Regions from separate parts of the Homo sapiens genome. Here region 1 is linked to region 2. The links are contacts of gene promoters, found by promoter capture Hi-C in human tissues and cell types (Jung and others, 2019). All regions are on one chromosome and are shown on one strand. Each heading gives the region's core, a stretch centred on a gene start or on the middle of the fragment in contact. The rest is flanking DNA. Distances are from core to core; before and after follow the strand shown.

Evidence for each region. Contacts are between HindIII fragments. The study calls those that stand out against the background at their distance.
Region 1: a contact is called between a fragment that was not itself captured here and the fragment with the promoter of GPR158 in region 2, in 1 of the 25 tissues and cell types used here (dorsolateral prefrontal cortex).

What each region holds. Positions count from the first base shown.
Region 1 is chr10:24,621,597-24,625,722 of GRCh38, forward strand. ARHGAP21 (Rho GTPase activating protein 21) reads right to left here. Exons shown (of 26, transcript NM_020824.4): 8 at 1,137-1,166. Among named protein-coding and RNA genes, the nearest start is that of ARHGAP21, 100 kb to the right of the region's middle. The HindIII fragment of the contact is 4,722 bases long and covers 226-4,126 here.
Region 2 is chr10:25,173,604-25,177,936 of GRCh38, forward strand. GPR158 (G protein-coupled receptor 158) reads left to right here and starts at 1,398. Exons shown (of 11, transcript NM_020752.3): 1 at 1,398-2,719. The coding sequence starts at 1,818. GPR158-AS1 (GPR158 antisense RNA 1) reads right to left here and starts at 2,673. Exons shown (of 2, transcript NR_027333.2): 1 at 2,073-2,673. The HindIII fragment of the contact is 11,687 bases long and covers 1-4,333 here.

The DNA of each region.
Region 1 (4,126 bases), core at 1,337-3,836, 550 kb before region 2:
CTTTGCTCAAAACATGTGAAACTCATCAAATTTCTACCCAACCAATTAGATGTACCCACATTACTTCTAAAATTCTCCCCATTCAAGCCTTCTGAGTTTCAGCAGTTGACAGGTTAAATGGCTGCCAAATAAATCCCAGCAAAGGAAGATTCATGTATTTTGCCAGAGAAAAGGTGAAAATATTAAAAATCTTAAATGCATTTTAAGTACTACTACTATAATAAATTAAGTCTAATTTATTTGAAGCATCTTGTCAATTAACCATTACAGAGTCCCTAAGAATAATCCATTTTGACAAATTAAGACCTTCAGCAGCCATGCTAAGTATTTTAATATTTAAAGTAAGATAATATGCAAGTTTAAGAAATAAAGCACATATAATAAAGGCAGAAAAACATGAAAAAAGGTAACTCATCGTTCTGTATATAATTTATATTTTTATTTTAAGCTAATGCAAAAGTATATCATACAAATTTATTTGGTCTCCTTTACTTATTATAAGGAGACATTTCTCTATTACTAACAGGCAGGCATGCAGCCTAAATAGTTTTTTATCAACTATTTGTAAAATTATTCAGCAATATTTTTAAAGCCTTAAGAATAACAGAAATCAACTATAGAGACTTTACAAAACAGAGCTCATCAGTGCAACACAGGGACTATGTTCAGCATCTGAGACAGATGTGGTAACACATCTTCCCCTAATCAAAACAAGCTTAACTCAAGACTATCATCACATCCTGCTCTTTGCATTCGACAGCTTGCAAAGCTCAAGTGCAGCCACAAACGTAACAGCAAAGTAGTAGTGACAGGAAGAGGGTGAGATACTTAAAAAACATATATATATATATATATATATATATATATATATATATATATATATATATATACTGATGCAGATAAATATTACGCTGTAGCATCAGTTATGTACAGGATACAAAAGAAAACCAAACATAAAAATAAAAAATAAGGATGGCAAACCATCTATCACAAACGTATTCTGCAAATTAGTAAGATTAACACGATAGAGGGATTTCTCTAAGCAAAAGTGAACAGTTTTTAATAGATTGGCTTATTACAAATCTCTACAAAACATGACTTAAAAAGCAAGGAAATGGCTACTGTGCATTTCTTACCAGTGCTGTGACATCCTTTGTAAACTGTAGCTAGCAGAAAATAGGAAAACATAGTAGAAGCTGCTTACTGATATAAAGACAAAATCATGTTGTCATATTGATGCTGGAAACGGCAAGCTAAAAATACATCTATACTTGTTTCTCTGGAAGGTACCAAGAGAGGTAAAGGGCAGTGAAGCATAAAGAATAACTCCAGTATTCTTCTGAACATCTTTTTCTCAGGCTTTTATCTGATTCTTGTTTGATGTGTCTACCATTCTTGAAAGCAAAATACATCTGGTGACATGCATTCCTAACAGATATTTTCTTCAATATGCACTGCTGTCTGATAACATGCTACAAAGCTTCCCTCCACGAAAGCAACAGTGATGTCTCTCATTTCCCCCCAGCTTCTTCCATCTCTGCTTCCAGATGACGAAACGAATGCTCTATTATGCATTTAAAATAGTACAACCTCCTCCTTCCCCAGTAAATCAGAGCATAACCACAAGCTGTCAGCAGACTGCAGCTGCCTTTACACTAAGATTCAGGGGGGAAAATGACTTCTTTTAAGTAAGTTTCACTCAAAAATTAAGATCTTTCAACACTGTGCCTTTTGTACTATTGTATTAGTTTGCAAAAATAACTACTGGATAGACATAAAAATATTACTTCCAGAGTAATTCTTGTTAACCTATAATAAATATTATAGAACAGAGACTAGAATGCAGTGACAAATTAAAGCTAGCCATATAAAATAAAATATGTCTACATAGTATTTTTATGGCATGAATACAGTTAATCCCAACATGCATTTTGGGTGTGTGCATTGACACACCAAGTCTATCTTTTCCATGCTGATTAGAATCATACCAATACTTTTCTGCAATAGGAAAATTGTGTCTGGATGAGAGAATACTGTACTGTCTGGTACAGCATTTCCCACAACATCCTTGTGTAGTTTTATTATATACCACCTGAAAAGGAGGATGGGGGAGAGGAGGTCCCTATGGTCAATGATGTAGGGCCACTTGGCAAGCTTTTTGATTTCTCAAAACCACGACGACACTAATGTACATTGTGAAATTCGAAAGGAAAATATAAACTTATTCACCATGGAGGCCATTTTTTTCCCAGAGGTTTTAACATAATTAGAATATCTACTTGGGTAATGCTATTCTAGAACTAATATTTTAAAGATGACTCCTTTATTCAAATTTGGGAAGAAATATTACTGTTTAGTAATAGAAGTATACGGCTGGAACTATTAAAACTTGAGAATATTTTACATACTTCAGACATCTCTAATATTCCTGTATGGCAATTCTAAATGCTAAATAGTCTACATTACAGTCACAGGTCCCCACTTCTGAGTTAAGTTATCACAAGGGGCCCTGAAATCCATACAAATGCAGGCATTAACAGTGAACATCTCACACATGCAGTACTATTATCTAATGTAAGCAGATATGGTTGAGATAAAATATGAATTCATTCAAGAACATTTTTCACAAAATGTACATTGTGAAACTCAAAAGTACAAACTTACTCGCCAGGGAACCCATTTTTTTCCCCAGAGATTTTAAAATAATTAGAATATCTGCCTGGGAAATGCTGTTCTAGAACTTTTTTTTTTTTTTTTTTTTGAGACCGAGTCTCACTCTGTTGCCCAGGCTGGAGTGCAGTGGCGCAATCTTGGCTCACTGCAACCTGTGCCTCCCAGGTTCAAGCAATTCTCCTGCCTCAGCCTCCTGAGTAGCTGGGATTACAGGCATGAGCCACCATGCTCAGCTAATTTTTGTATTTTTAATGGAGGTGGGGTTTCACTATGTTCGCCAGGTTGGTCTCGAACTCCTGACCTCAAGTGATCCACCTGCCTCGGACTCCCAAAGTGCCAGGATTACAGGTGTGAACCACCGAGCCCGGGTAGAACTAATATTTTAAAGCTATCTCCTTTATTCAAATTTGGGGAGGAATATTATTTTTGAAACCAATGTCATAAGAATTACATATTCAGTATTAACAATTTTGAATTTTAGTTAGGCTTTAAGCCCAAATGGATACTTTACAACATATGAAAGTGTTTTGATAGAATCAGACAACATTTAAATTTTTCCCAATTTACTAGCTCTTGTGAATTCAACAGAATATGACAAAACATTTTTAGCCATTTTTTCCACTCAGCCTTTTTGTATACCACTTCACATTCCTTCTTGAGCTTTCTTTACCCTTGTACTTAAGTATTACACCTTTTGGAGTTTAACAGCTTGTATTTTAAAAACTGAAGCCTTCCCTAACAGCCCTGTTTTGCCTATTAGATACAAAAAGCTCTAAAAAGTGGGGGGGGGGGGGGAGGAGGAGGAGGAAGAAAATAAGAAAGATGACCCAAAGAATTCTTTCTTTGTAATTAGAACTCCAAACAGTATGTTAAATACAACTTAATATTAACAGCCTGGATCTTGATTATATGTACAATGCCTAATAGTAACTAAATAACCCTAAAATAATCTCTAGTTCATTTTTTATACAGTCACATCAAAATCACCATGACCATACCTATGATAAATGGTAAACAAAATGAAACAGAGAAAAAAAAAAAAAAAAAAAAAAAACCTGAAGAATAAATAAGGTGGTAAGATTAAAATTCCTGCCTTTCAGTTCACCTTTAACAGGTTATTAATTTAATGCCTTTACCTATGATAAAAGCAAGAGTAACTTCATGTTTGTTGGTAGATGCCAACCATGCCAGCATAGGGAATGGGAGAAGGGGATGGTGTAGATGGAGAAGGACTTTCTTTTTATTATACCTTTCTGCATTATTTCAAATATTTTCAACCAGCACATACTATTCTTGTAATTATTTAAAAATAGATTTTAAAAAATTACAAAGTAAACTGCTGCTAACCTGCAAAATATGAAAGAACCCTCCAGAATTCATACTCTTGCTTCCCTCACTCTAGGCCGGACCACCTACATGTACACTTGACAAATGGCTACTTAAATAGGATATT
Region 2 (4,333 bases), core at 148-2,647:
TTTCTCAATAGGAAGGATGACATGAAATAGTACAGTGAATCTAAGCAGTGCCTGCTTAGAATGCCATGAGGGACATTTTTGTTAGTTGGGAATTAAAGTAAGTTGGATATTTTCTATTTGTGTCTTTCTTGGGGAATTTGAAAATAGAGGTGCATATGGAAAGTGGAGCTAGCTGTGCAAAACACTACTTTTCTGGTACCAGTCTACTTTTGGAGTGTCAGAAGACACTTAAATTCTCTAATAAGCGTCAAAACATCAATTAGATTGTGTTAAGAAATTTACCAATAATTTGGGGGACTTGGCATACTTGCTCAGTTCTTCTTTCTTCTGCTGGGATATCCCAACCTTTAGCTAAATAGAAGTCTTAGTTCTTATCTCTCAATTCCAGGAACTCCCAGTCAGGATGATTTCCCTTCTCACTCAACACAGGCTCCTTCTCATTCTCCCAGAGCTCATGAGTCCTCCCCCTTGCTCTCTCCCTTACACATCTTTACTTGCATACATTTTTACACGTTCCCCTCCATTCTGGCCCCCAAGCAGAGATTCCTTAAATATGACTTTTTTTTCTCTCCTTAAAGCACAGCTGGTAGATTTCTCCATTACTCCCTCAGCTAAGATGAGCCTAGACAAGTATGTTTTAATCATTTCTTTAACTGACAACAAGAAAGATGATTTGATAATTTGCCTAAAATGAGCAGATGCTCAGGAGGACACGTCTCCATCCTATGTCCCTTCTGTCTAATTTCACCTAGAAATGAAAACTACTCCCTTCTCCCTCTTTTCCAGGCAAAAGGCTGATTTAACTAAGCATGCAAGACGCCAACACCCTCCCCCTCAGTACGTCCAAGTTTCCTTCGCTCTGAGCCACCGAATCTCTGCTTCTCCCCCCTCTGCCGCCCACCCTACGCCACCCACGCAGGTTTCCGAGTCATCCGGAACGCGAGTGGGTGCGAGGACTCGGCAGGCTGCCTCCCGCGCCCCCGCCGCCCGCGGGCCGCCTCGGGTTCAGCACTGGACAGCTCCCTCCCCGGCCCCACAAATGGCAGTCGGCTGATTGACAGAGGAGCCGACCAAACAGGGAACAAGACGACTTGCAGCCGCCCTACAAGGGTTTGGTTGCGGCCAAGCTGCCTCTTTAAACTGGCTTTCCTCCCCCGAGGAGGGAGCAGGGAGAGAGGGTGGAGTGTGGTTTGCGGCCAAACCTAAAGGCTGCAATTAACCAGCCGCCCGGCCTTCGCTACTCCGGACAGACGAACGTCTTAAAGGACGTCTTCGCTCCTCGGGAGTCGCGGCTGCGCTCGCGGTGCGGGTCTGGGCGCGCGCCCCGCGCCTCCGGGCGAAGCGGTCGAGGAGGAGCCAGTGCCGGGAGGCGGGAACGACCTGCGGCGGGTGAGACTATGGAGCAGCGTCTTCGGCGGCCGCGGCGGCAGCAGCAGCAGCAGCTTCTGAACGCGCCTCAATGAGAGCGGCGGTGGCGGCAGCCGGGCCGAGAGACGGACTCGGGCTGACTCCAGCCGCTGGGAGCGCGAGGCCATGTAACCCGCTCGGCTCCAGGCTGCGAGGTGCGTAATCCCCAGCCGGCCCCTCGCGCAGCGGGCACGGCCAGCGCTGCCACAGGTGACTTGATTTCTGCGACGGTAGCTTAGCCACCCGGGGCCAATCTCGAAACATTCTTATTTTCAAGTCCTTTGGACTGGGTGCCATCTGGAGAAGGGGGAAGACTCCTCGAAAAAGTCTGACTGTTGAGAAACTGACGATCCAAATTTAAAAAGTGATTCCCCCCCCTCCCGTTCCCTCCTCTTCTCTCTGGGAGGCAGATGGGAGCCATGGCTTACCCCTTACTCCTCTGCCTCCTGCTTGCTCAGCTGGGATTGGGAGCTGTTGGCGCCAGCCGCGACCCCCAAGGACGGCCGGATTCCCCTCGAGAGAGGACCCCGAAGGGGAAGCCGCACGCCCAGCAGCCGGGTCGAGCCTCTGCCTCGGACTCCTCGGCTCCCTGGAGCCGCTCCACCGATGGCACCATCTTGGCGCAGAAACTCGCCGAGGAGGTGCCCATGGACGTGGCCTCTTACCTCTACACCGGGGACTCCCACCAGCTGAAGCGAGCCAACTGCTCCGGCCGCTACGAGTTGGCGGGCCTGCCGGGGAAGTGGCCAGCCCTGGCCAGCGCGCACCCCTCCTTGCACCGGGCGCTGGACACACTGACACACGCCACCAACTTCCTCAACGTGATGCTGCAGAGCAATAAGTCGCGGGAGCAGAACTTGCAGGACGACCTGGATTGGTACCAGGCGCTGGTGTGGAGCCTTCTGGAGGGCGAGCCCAGCATCTCCCGGGCGGCCATCACCTTCAGCACCGATTCGCTGTCCGCACCGGCCCCACAGGTCTTCCTCCAGGCCACGCGCGAGGAGAGCCGCATCCTGCTCCAAGACCTGTCCTCCTCCGCACCCCACCTGGCCAACGCCACTCTGGAGACCGAGTGGTTCCACGGCCTCCGGCGCAAGTGGAGGCCCCACTTACACCGCCGCGGCCCCAATCAGGGGCCCCGGGGCCTGGGCCACAGCTGGCGGCGCAAGGACGGGCTCGGCGGGGACAAGAGCCACTTCAAGTGGTCTCCGCCTTATCTGGAGTGCGAGAACGGGAGTTACAAGCCCGGGTGGCTGGTTACTCTTTCCTCTGCCATCTACGGGTTGCAGCCTAACCTGGTCCCGGAATTCAGGTAGGGAGGGCCGGGGGGCAGGGGGGAAGGCAAAAGCGAAGCTTTCCTTCCGGTCTTGTGGGTGGGTGCACGTGTGAGGAAGGAACCCTTGGCTGTGACGCGAACGCTTCTCACCCTCAGAGTAGAGACCCGGGCTGAGGGACACCCCACGCGGGCGCGGGTGCTTGGGGGCAAGAAGCGCCCCACGCCCGTCAGCTTCCGGCGCTCGGCGAAAGCCATTCATTCTCTCGGACCAGTTTCCCCGCACTGGGCGAGGGACAGGCAGCCCTTGGCAGGACGGAGACACCCCCGCTGCTCTGTGCTTCCCTCCAATTGTCCGGAGAGCAGGGAGGGGCGTTCCCCACCGGGGGGCGATGCGACAACTTGGCGAGCGCCGGGTGTGTCCGCGGAGTGGCAAGCCTCAGATGAGAGGCGAAAAGGGAGCAGGAGGAACAGAGAGTTCCTTGTTTCTGCCACTTTGGGGTAGCCTCTGCCTGCTTCCTACGTGTGCAGTTGGGGGCACCGGTCTGTTGTTAGTCAGAGCTTATAATTAAAACTGTGCCATCTCCTCGCAGTTCCGGCCCCTCAGCAGTGAGTCAGTCCCAGCAGCTAGCTGTCTCTGGGATCCAGACTTTGCAGCTTGGTCAGGGTGCTCCTTCTACCGGTCTCCCCTCTCCCCGCAATTGATCTTTCCTTCCTCGGTGGCCTTTTCCTCCTCTTCCCTGTCTTAGGCATACTTAAGGGTTCTCCAGCCCTTCACACACTCACATGATTTATAAAAGGACCTAGTTATATTCGGGAGGGAGGCATCAGTTGTGACTGAATTCACTCAAGGAGGCTGGAGGAAACTTAAGGGAGTCTGTACTTCCTGTCTCAAACTATAGCATTTGAGGGAAGCAGAGAATTTGCAAATTAACAGGTTTTAACTTCTGCCTGGGAAGTGCCTGACCTTTGAGGCGGGGAATTTCTAGAAGCAACCTTTAAGAGTAGATGTGAGGAAGGAACTGAAAGAGTAGTTACACCAAAGAGGGCTTAGGAGAGGGCCCAAGATGAACTGAGATCTTCCCTTAGTCCCATGAGGGAAGGCTCTGGAAAGAGGGTCTTGGGGGCTGAGGTTGCTTTTGTACTTTTTGGGAACCTGGGCAGGACTGAGAAACCTTTGTGTGTGGATTATTTATTATTTTTTAAATACCCTGTCACAGCAAGGTCAGGATGCTGACCTGCTGAAAGATGCCAGATCAAGTACTGGGTGGGCAAGTGGGAAAGGTCAGAAGGCTTGTTTGTCTTGGTACTGCCATTTACTGCTGAATGACCTCAACCAAGTTGCTTAACCTCTCTGGGCCTCAGCTACTTATCTGTCCAGTGAGGGAGTTGAACTAGACAGTCTCTAGGGAGCCATCCAGTTATCAAGTTTTGTAGCTTTTAATGTTGGCAACACTTGCAAAGGCATAAAGGATAATAAACCCCTTTGTCTGATTCTGTATGACCATATTAAGTGCATGTGTGTGTGTCTTTGCCTGTGTTTCTATCTCTTTTAAAGGTCTTGTCTTAAACCAGACTAACTCTTTTCTACTTTCAAGATAATCTCATTTCCTCCTAATTCCTGCAGGATCCTATTAGTAAGAGCTGAGCCCA